Regions from separate parts of the Homo sapiens genome. Here regions 1 and 3 are each linked to region 2. Evidence: promoter capture Hi-C in 16 types of primary human blood cells and fetal thymus (Javierre and others, 2016). All regions are on one chromosome and are shown on one strand. The core of a region is centred on a gene start or on the middle of the fragment in contact, and the rest is flanking DNA. Distances in the headings are between cores, read along the strand shown. Region 1 overlaps ATP6V0A4 (ATPase H+ transporting V0 subunit a4). Region 2 holds the start of DGKI (diacylglycerol kinase iota). Region 3 overlaps ATP6V0A4 (ATPase H+ transporting V0 subunit a4).

Evidence for each region. The method cuts DNA at HindIII sites, captures the fragments that hold promoters and counts their contacts. A CHiCAGO score of 5 or more calls a contact.
Region 1: a contact is called between a fragment that was not itself captured here and the fragment with the promoter of DGKI in region 2, in 3 of 17 cell types (neutrophils, naive B cells and monocytes). The highest score is 6.0, in neutrophils.
Region 3: a contact is called between a fragment that was not itself captured here and the fragment with the promoter of DGKI in region 2, in 1 of 17 cell types (neutrophils). The highest score is 5.2, in neutrophils.

What each region holds. Positions count from the first base shown.
Region 1 is chr7:138,758,903-138,762,218 of GRCh38, reverse strand. ATP6V0A4 (ATPase H+ transporting V0 subunit a4) reads left to right here. Exons shown (of 22, transcript NM_020632.3): 8 at 2,341-2,467. Among named protein-coding and RNA genes, the nearest start is that of TMEM213, 37 kb to the left of the region's middle. The HindIII fragment of the contact is 3,114 bases long and covers 1-2,807 here.
Region 2 is chr7:137,845,405-137,848,577 of GRCh38, reverse strand. It overlaps DGKI (diacylglycerol kinase iota), which reads left to right and starts at 1,604. Exons shown (of 33, transcript NM_001321708.2): 1 at 1,604-2,116. The coding sequence starts at 1,716. RefSeq lists silencers at 801-1,095, 1,580-1,629 and an enhancer at 2,264-2,765. The HindIII fragment of the contact is 3,155 bases long and covers 878-3,173 here.
Region 3 is chr7:138,790,962-138,794,340 of GRCh38, reverse strand. The region is part of intron 1 of ATP6V0A4 (ATPase H+ transporting V0 subunit a4); the gene reads left to right. Among named protein-coding and RNA genes, the nearest start is that of TMEM213, 5.3 kb to the left of the region's middle. The HindIII fragment of the contact is 3,739 bases long and covers 1-3,379 here.

The DNA of each region.
Region 1 (3,316 bases), core at 1-2,500, 910 kb before region 2:
TCTGCCAAGCGATAGACCCATATGTAACTTACTAGGTTGGTGGAGTCGGAAGTGGTGTCAGCTTCTTGTTAGTGGCGATGCTGACCTCCTTGAGCCTGAAGACTGCAATGTTTATATTGCTCCCCCATTGGAAGCTGTGGGGATCATTGTTCAGATGGGTTATCACAACTCTTCCCTGGCGTTGGAACAAGGCTATGGGGACTTATGTTTTTCCTTTCTCTTTAAAATACTATTTTGGGAGCCGGGCGTGGTGGCTCACACCTGTAATCCCAGTACTTTGGGAGGCTGAGGTGGGTGGATCACTTGAGGTCAGGAGTTTGAAACCAGCCTGGGCAACATAGTGAAACCCCAATCTCTACTAAAAATACAAAATTAGTCAGGCATGGTCGCACGTGCCTGTAATACCAGTTACTTAGGAAGTTGAGGCAGGAGAATCGCTTGAACCCTGGAGGTAGAGGTTGCAGTGAGCCAAGATCGTGCCACTGCACTCTAGCCTGGGCGACAGAGCAAGACTCCAGCTCAAGAAAATAAAATAAAATATTACTTTGATAATAAAATGCATTTGGAGTTTGAATTTTTTTTTTTTTTGAAACAGAGTCTTGCTCTGTCGTCCAGGCTGGAGTGCAGTGGCCTGATCTCGACTTACTGCAAACTCCGCCTCCCAGGTTCACGCCATTCTCCTGCCTCAGCCGAGTAGCTGGGACTACAGGCGTCTGCCACCACACCCGGCTAATTTTTTTGTGTTTTTGGTAGAGACGGGGTTTCACCGTGTTAGGCAGGATGGTCTCGATCTCCTGACCTCGTGATCCGCCTGCCTTGGCCTCCCAAAGTGTTGGGATTACAGGTGTGATCCACCGCACCTGGCCTGAATTTGTGTGTTTTTTTTTGACACGGGCTCTCACTCTGTTGCCCAGGCTGGAGTGCAGAGGTGCAATCATAGCTCACTGCAGCCTTGACCTCTCAGGCTCAAGTGATCTTCCTACCTCTGCCTCGCGAGTAGCTGGACCACAGGCACAATGCCAGGCTAATTTTTAAAAAATTTTTTAGTAGAGACAAGGCCTCACTGTGTTGCCCGGGATACATTTTTAAATGTAATTAGAAATGGGGGTCAGATGTGGTGGCTTATGCCTATAATCCCAGCACTTTGGGAAGCTGAGGCAGGAGGATCACTTGAGGCCAGGAGTTTGAGATCAGCCTGAGCAACATAGCAAGACTCTGTGTCTACAAAAAAAAAAATTTTAATAAAAAAAAGAAATGGGATAGTTATGCAATCAAGTTATTTCCAAGAAGCAGTGATATGATGTGTCGTAGCCATGAAAATAATGTGGTGATTCAAAATGGTAGGATTTTGTTCAGTGCCTAAGTGAAATTGAGGCATTTTAAAGCATTTCTGAAAATTGTGAGTTTGGGATTTATGATTTTTTATTCAATAAATATTTGAGGGCCTGATATTTGAGGCACTAGGCATTGAATTTGAAATGAAAATAAAAATATTTATTGGAAATATTTGATCAGAAAGTAATACAGGATCAATGAACATTTAAAGTAATAAGCCAGTGAAAGTCACTGGCTAACATGAGAAGTTTGGGTCAGCAGTTATCTACATGCTTGGATAATGGAAAAAACAGATATATATAGACATCAATGTATTTTTCCCTCTTAGTATTAAAATATTTTTGGAAAAATGCATAGAGACTACTGTTGAATATTTGCTATCATTAGCTACAATGCATGATGAATGGTCTATCATATTCTTTTTTTTTTTTTTTTTTTTGAGACAGAGTTTCACCCTTCTCTGCCCAGGCTGGAGTGCAATGGCACATTCTTGGCTCACTGCAACCTCCGCCTCCCAGGTTCAAGTGATTTTCCTACCTCAGCCTCCTGAGTAGCTGGGACTATAGGTGCACGCCACCAGGTGTGGCTAATTTTGTATTTTTAGTAGAGATGGGGTTTCAGCATGTTGGCCAGGCTGGTCTCGAACTCCTGACCTCAGGTGATCCGCCCGCCTCAGCCTCCCAAAGTGCTGGGATTACAGGTGTGAGCCACGGCGCCTGGCCATTCTATCATATTCTTAATTGCAATTAGTGACGATATAGTATTGGAATGATTAAGGATATTTCAAGATACCAAAGAAAACAGAAGGTCAAAGGGACTTGGGGCAAGTCAGGGCTGGATGCGGGGTGGCCTTGGGACTCATGTCGGTAGAGCTGTGTCGGGGTCCCTCCTGCTCACAGAGTGAATGGCCCTTCCTTTCATGGTGTGTCTTCACGTCCTACAGGGCCTTCTCTCTGCATCCCAATCCCTGTGCCTTAAGGAATGTCTTCCCTTCTGGCTGCCTAGGTTCATAGCCGGTGTGATCAACAGGGAGAGGATGGCTTCCTTTGAGCGGTTACTGTGGCGAATCTGCCGAGGAAACGTGTACTTGAAGTTCAGTGAGATGGACGCCCCTCTGGAGGATCCTGTGACGGTGGGAACCTTGGGCTGCAAAAACTTTCTCTGAGACTTCCCATAGCCCTCAGCAGAAGCGCTTCGTTCTCCCAAAACATGGGGGATCTTTAGTTTGATGAGACTAATATCTATTTCCTTTTTTTCTCCTTTTTTTCCTTCCCTTTTACTTTGTTCCTTTTTAAAAATATATATTTGAAAGGTCAGTTCAAGGACTGATTCTTGTCAACACCTCATAACTGGTTTATTCTTCCCAGAGACATAGCTATACTTTTCTCTAGAACTTAGTTATACTAGTACTATCCTAGGCGGCAGCTGTGTCTTAAAGAACTGAGAACTGATTGAGGTCAGCTTCTCAAGCTTCAATGTGCACGCGAGCATAGAGGTCACCCGGGGATCTTGTTAAAATGCAAATTCCAGGCCAGGCATGGTGGCTTATGCCTGTAATCTCAGCGCTTTGGGAGCCCAAGGTGGGAGGATCGTTTGAGGTCAGGGGATTGAGACCAGCCTGGGCAACATAGCAAGAAAACATCTCTACAAAAAAAAGTTAACCAAGTGTGGTGGCACACACCGGTAGTCCCAGCTACTTAGGAGGCTGAGGTGGGAGGACAACTTGAGCCCAGGAGGTCAAGGCTGCAGTGAGCTATGATCACACCACTGCACTCCAGCCTAGGGAACAGAGTGAGACCCTATCTCAAAAAAAAAAAAAAAAAAAAAAAAATAGGCTGGGCATGGTGGCTCATGCCTGTAATCCCAGCACTTTGGGAGGCCGAGGTGGGCGGATCACCTGAGGTCAGGAATTTGAGACCATCCTGGCCAACATGGTGAAACTCTGTCTCTACTAAAAATAAAAAAATTAGCCAGGAGTGGT
Region 2 (3,173 bases), core at 355-2,854:
TTTAAGTGGAGGCGTGAAAAATCAGAAGTATTTTGGGGCTCACACTTGAGATTGGATTGGGGAAGATACGGCTAAAAGTAAGTGGGAGTAATGAGGGGGCTGTCCCAGTAATTGGGTTCAGATGACATTTGCTTGATTTTAGGGATGTACGAGATATTCGTGGATCTTGTGTTGAAGCACCTAATACACGATGTCCCTTCTGAAGACGGGTGCATTAAACTGGGGTGAAGCACAAAGGCCACTGAGCAGCCTGGCTTGACTCCTGGCTTTGCCAGTTTGCATTTGCACGTGTCCAAGCCCTTGAGAGGTGCTGTGAAAACATAGAGGTGGATGAGGGAAGTGCTTATACAGCACATACCGTATAAAAAGAGGGCTTCATACTTGCTAGTTGTTTTAATTTTTATTATTACTTTTCCTCGCTGCACATGGAAATGTCTTTACCTTTGTCTTATTATAAGGTACATACGAGGAGAGTTACAGAACATGGGTGTTAGAAGAGATTTGACATATCTGTTCATTTTCCTAATTTTAGTGATGAGAAAATAAAGGGAAAGAAAGCAATTTAGATTTTTGCCAGTATTACAATTCTTTGTTCACGGGCACACCACGCCAGCCTGAAACTGTTCATTGGTCTGGTTCTCTTACCACCTCGTATATGTAGGTTTATAGTTTGGTTACGAACACCACCTTGTCTTAACCATAGATAGTTCCTGTGTTTGCCGACAGCAGCGATTTCTTGTGTGGAAACCCCTAATTTGGGAAACAATCTGTTTTAAACACTTTGTAGCACATCACTCAAACCGCACAGTTTTCGATAATCTTAGAAACAAAAACTGGGGTTGAGGCGGACAGTTAAATTCTGCAGACACCACAAGCTTGGATTCGTTTCAGCAGTCGGTCCTAAGTGGTTTGAAGCCCCTTCCGGGATGCCTCTTCTTATACGAACAACGCAGCGGCGCCAGGCGCCAGGGTCCTCACTTCTGCCTCCTGGATTTCCTCCGCCTTTCTGCTTCACCGAGGGCCCTGTGATCCGATTCCATCGAATTAACCGCTGTTTACCGAGGGTCTGCTGCGCCTAAGGAAGGCACCGGGCGACGAGCAAGGCGGGGACGCAGTTTGGGGACGCAGGGGTCCGGGCCCCAGTCCAGAGACAGGAGGTCGGCGCTTCGACTTGGCACCCGCCGACGAATTCACTCCAAGGTTCCCACTGGCGGAGCTCCTGCTACCTCCCCCCTCCCCTAAATGCAGCTCCCGCTACCTTCCCGCGCCCAGGGGCTGCTGCCTGAGCCCAGCTCTGCTCACTGGAGGGCGGCGGTGGAGAGGGTGCTGGCCCAGCGTCGGCAGCTGGGCTCAGGACCAAGGTGGGCGCCCGCCGGTCCTGGTCCCCCCAGCCTCACGGTGCAGGACCCAGGGCGCGGCCACTCGAGTTCCCCGGACGCTCTCCTTCCTGATGCTCGCTGTCCCTGCCCTGGCGTCCCCAGCCCGGGGTCGCAGCCTGTCCTCCTCTCTCTCCCCCTCCGCCGCAGCCCGTCGCCTCCGGGCAGAGTTCATGTTCAGCTTGGGCTTTCGCTCGGGATTTAGGAAGAGGCCGGCGGGGCTGGAGGGTGCGGGCCGGCGCGGGAGGGCGCGGGAGGCGGGGAGCGGCGGCCTCTGATTGGCCGGGGCGGGGGAGTGAGCGGAGTTTCCCACAATGCCCCGGTGCGGTGCAGCCGCGGATGGATGCTGCGGGAAGGGGCTGCCATTTGCTGCCCCTGCCAGCGGCGCGCGGACCTGCCCGCGCTCCTGCAGCCGCCGCCGCCGCCGCCGCCAGCCCGCCCGGCCCCTGCAGCGGCGCCGCCTGCGCTCCCTCCGCGGCCGCCGGAGCGGGCGCCATGAACCCCAGCTCCTCGGCGGGAGAGGAGAAAGGGGCGACGGGCGGCAGCAGCAGCAGCGGAAGCGGCGCCGGGAGCTGCTGCCTGGGCGCCGAGGGCGGCGCGGACCCGCGGGGCGCAGGGTCAGCCGCGGCGGCGGGGGCCGCTGCCCTGGACGAGCCCGCGGCCGCCGGCCAGAAGGAGAAGGACGAAGCGCTGGAGGAGAAGCTGAGGAACTTAACTTTCCGGAAGCAGGTCTCGTACAGGTAGGTGCGGGGAGCCGGCAGCCGAGACAGGTGCGCCGCGGCGGGAGACCCACTCTTCTACCCAGCAAGGGGCGCTTCCGCGGAGTTGGGCACCTCTCTGTTTCCACGCCTCTCCTTCCCCCTTTCCCCCTCTCCTCCCGGGGATGTCTGTCTTCTCCCCATCCTATCATTCCAGGCTGGAGGGCAGCAACGCCTGCTTTCCCCTGTGGCAGGAGAGAAGCACTGGGTCCCTAAGGTCAGAGCAACAGAAATTTTGTCTGTGTGTGTGTGTGTGTGTGTGTGTGTGTGTGTGTGTGTGTGAGAGAGAGAGAGAGAGAGAGAGAGAGAAAGAGAGAGAGAGAAAGGGTTGCAGACTCAGTGATGCTTAGTTTTCTTAAGAGAAGTCGTCAAAGTTGCCCCTAAGCAGGTGTCATCTTCAACCACCCTTCCCCCACCTTCCAGATTTCGCTGGATGAACCTTTGGCACTAACTTGACAGCTGAGATCACTCCGACAGGCAGAAAAGAATAGCACTACACTGAAGAGAAATCCTTATGGAAGTTGGACCTGCCTCGAAATCCCCCATGAAGGAAGAGTGGGTTTATGTCTGTAGATGCGCCACTGGTTATGGGGGCTCCATGCCTGCGTGCTCCTTGCCTCTCTCCTGGCTGGAGGAGGGTGTGGGGAGCCCGCTGGCAAGCTAGGGGTGAAGGTGAGAGTGGGGACCATATTTGCACCTAAGGATGAGTGTATGTGTAAGACAAGGACAGTGTGGGATCAATGGCCTTTAAATTAGGATAAAAGATAACCCCACATTGTATTAGAATCCAACAACGAGGAATTAGGATTTATTAAGGTCTCTCTCACCCCTCCCTTCCGCAGGCAAGAATAAAGACATTGACAGGTTTGGAGAGTTGTTGACACTAACCCTACTGCTTATCGATGTTAAAGGTCGAGGTGATATGCAAGCATAGGTTTACAAAGATGTACACTTGCTGGAGCTCAGAGGGTTTCTGGAAAAGGGGTCAGTGAAAACATTCTTGTAACCCTACTCTTTCTGAGTTAGTGTTCCCTTCCCA
Region 3 (3,379 bases), core at 578-3,077, 950 kb before region 2:
GGGGAAAAGACCTCTCACCTTGAACTTGGGTTTTTCATCTCCAGTTAACCCAAAATCTATTCAGAGGAGAATTGTGGCCCTAACCAAGCCTGTGCCTGCCAAGCCCCAGCTCCCTCACAGAGATGGGGTTGATGGCTCTTCTTGCTCCTGGCTCTGTCAGGATCTGTTTTTACAAAATAATGTCAGGCTCTGGGTGGTTGTGGGACCGAAACATCTAGATGTGGACCTGAGCAGCACTTAGTTTGTGGAGGAGTTAACCTCACTCCCTGCCCTTCAGTGATGGGTCTGTAATTTGGAGAGAACAAGAGGTTCCCTTTTAGGAAACCTTGAGAACTACAGCTGTTAAGATCATGCCATAGAGTTAGTTGATCAAAGTAAGAAAGTCAGCAAGGAAGTCCTGGAGTCCACCATTTGGAATAATTTTTGAACACTTCCCAGGATGACTAATTTAGCTTGTTCAAAATTGCACTGGGAGGCGGTGCAGCTATGGTCCAGACACGCGGAGGTTAACACAAAGGAGGTCCTTCCTCTTGGCGAAAACAACCTTCCACCTAGGTCCTGTATCTTATTCCCTCCCATCTTCTCTGAAGTATATTTCTTAATTTCCAAACATACGGAGGTTTTCTAGTTATCTTTTTGTTATTGATTTGTAGCTTAGTTGCACTGTGACCTGCGAATATACTTTGATGATTTCTATTTTTTGATGTTAGTTAAAAGACACCATATGACCAATTTTTGTGGCTCTTGAATGTGTCATGCAGTTGTGGGGTCAGTGCTCCGGGTAAGTCCATTAGATCAAGAGTGCTAATTGTGTGGTTCAGAACATCCATATTTTTCCTGTCTTTTAAAATTTGGTCTAATTATTCTGTTGAATACAGAGATGATTGCGGGTTTCTTTCTTCCCTGTAGTTTTGTCAACTTTTGCATTCAATATTTGAGGCTGTAATTGAGGTACAAACAAATACGGAATTTTGACAACTTCCTGGCAAATTGAACCTTCTTTTAAAAAATCATTGTGTAATATCCCTCATCTCTTTTATATTTTTGAGATGGAGTCTCTCTCTGTCGCCCAGGCTGGAATGCAGTGGCACGATCTCGGCTCACTGCAACTTCCACCTCCCGGGTCCAAGCGATTCTTCTTCCTCAGTCTCCTGAGTAGCTGGGATTACAGGCGTGTGCCACCACCCCCGGGTAATTTTTGTATTTTTGGTAGAAACAGGGGTTTCACCATGTTGGCCAGGCTGGTCTTGAAATCCTGACCTCAGGTGAGACTCCCGTCTCAGCCTCCCAAAGTGCTGGGATTACAGGTGTGAGCCACTGCGCCCAGCCTTCTTTATCTCTAGTAATGTTTTTTTGCCATAAACTTTACTTTGTCTGATATTGCTGTAGCTATAACAGGTTTCTTTTGTTTTGTTTGGCATGCTAAATCATTTTCCCATCATATTACTTTCAACTTTTCTAAAACCCTGTTCAAGATGGGAGGATTTCTTGAGCCCAGGACTGTGAGACCAGCCTGGGCAACATAGTGAAACTCTGTTGCTACAAAAAAAAAAACAAAACAACAAAAAAAAAAACAAACCTGAGTTTGGTGATGCAAGCCTGTGGTCCCAGCTACTCAGGAGGCTGAGATAGGAGGATTGCTTGAGCCCAGGAGATCCGAGATGGCAGGGAGCCATGATGGAGTCACTACACTCCAGACTGGGTGACAGAGTGAGACCCTGTCTCTAAAATTTAAAAACAAACAAATCAATCTATCAGCTTACCAAGTGCTCTCTACTCTTCCCATCTAGCTTATGTTCCTTTTCTCTTTCTTCTCACTACTTTTGGATTGAGTTGTTGGGTTATTCCATTTTGTAGAGATTACGACATGCATTCCTTTTTTGTTGCTTTTTAAGATTATTTTATTCTGCAACCCAGGAGCATAGATCCAAGTTACCCTGAATATATGTTCTCACAAGTGCATTCTTAACATATCAAAGTCTAATATTAATTGACACTTTCACCACTTTCATAGATAATATGAAGACCTCAGAACTTTAACTCCATTTACCCACTCGCCCAGGCTGGAGTGCAGTGGCGCTATCTCGGCTCACTGCAAGCTGCCTCCTGGGTTCACGCCATTCTCCTGCCTCAGCCTCCCGAGTAGCTGGGACTACAGGTGCCCGCCACCACGCCCAGCTAAGTTTTTGTATTTTTAGTAGAGATGGGGTTTCACCGTGTTAGCCAGGATGGTCTCGATCTCCTGACCTCGTGATCTGCCCACCTCGGCCTCCCAAAGTGCTGGGATTACAGGCGTGAGCCACCACACCTGGCCTATCCACTCCTGATTTTTATACCATTGTAGTCATGTATGTTAGTTATACACATAGTTTTTAACTCAATAAGTCATTATTATTATTATTTTCCAAGTGAATATATGAGTGAAATTTATTAAATTTATTTACATGTTTACCGGTTTATTGTTCTTAATTTATTTCTGCATGTCTGGTCTTCCATCTGTGATCATTTTCCTTCTCTTTGAAGAATACCATTTAGTATTCCCTCAGTGGAGTGATTAACATGTTACTTTGTTTGTCTGGATATGTTTTTATTCTTCCTTCATTCTTGGAAATCACCTTCATTGGGTACAAAATGTAAGGTTGGCAGATATTTTCTTTCAGTGCTTTAAAGATAACATTTCATTTCTTTTGGCTACCATTGTTTCTGTTGAGAACTGTCCACCTCACTGGGGCTTCATTGCAGATAATTTGCCTCTTTTATTTTTTGGCTGTTTTTAAATTTTTCTTTGCCTTTGGTTTTCAGCAGTTTTACTCTGATGTGCTGAAGTATGGATTCCTTTTTTGTCCTCTTTGGAGTTTGTAGGCAATTGGATATGGAGCTTGATGTTATTAATAAGTTTTGAAAACTTCTCAGCCATCAAATACTACTTGTGAACCATTCTCTCCTCTCTTTTTGTGACTGATTACACATAGGTTAGATCTTTCCACTCCATCCTGTAATTCTCTTACCTTCTTCTTTATTCTTTATCTTTTTGTTTTCCTGTGTTTTACTCTGGATATTGCCTTTTGCCCAGTCTTTTATGAAATCTCTTGTCATCTGTGTCTAATCCTCTTTTATAACTACCCATTGGGTTCTTAATTTCGATTATCTTAGTTTTAGTTCCAGAATTTCCATTCTGTTCTTTTTTATATTTTTTTTTCTGCCAAACTATTCAGTCCTGTTTTTCATCTTCATAAACAGAGGGGATATAATTCCTTTAAAATCCGTGTCTGATAACCTCAGTCTTCGCCATTCTTTTCCCATTCGTTTATTTCCATTGTCTATTATTTCTGCTGTTTTCATTCATATGATCATGTTTCTTTGCATACCTGGTTATTTT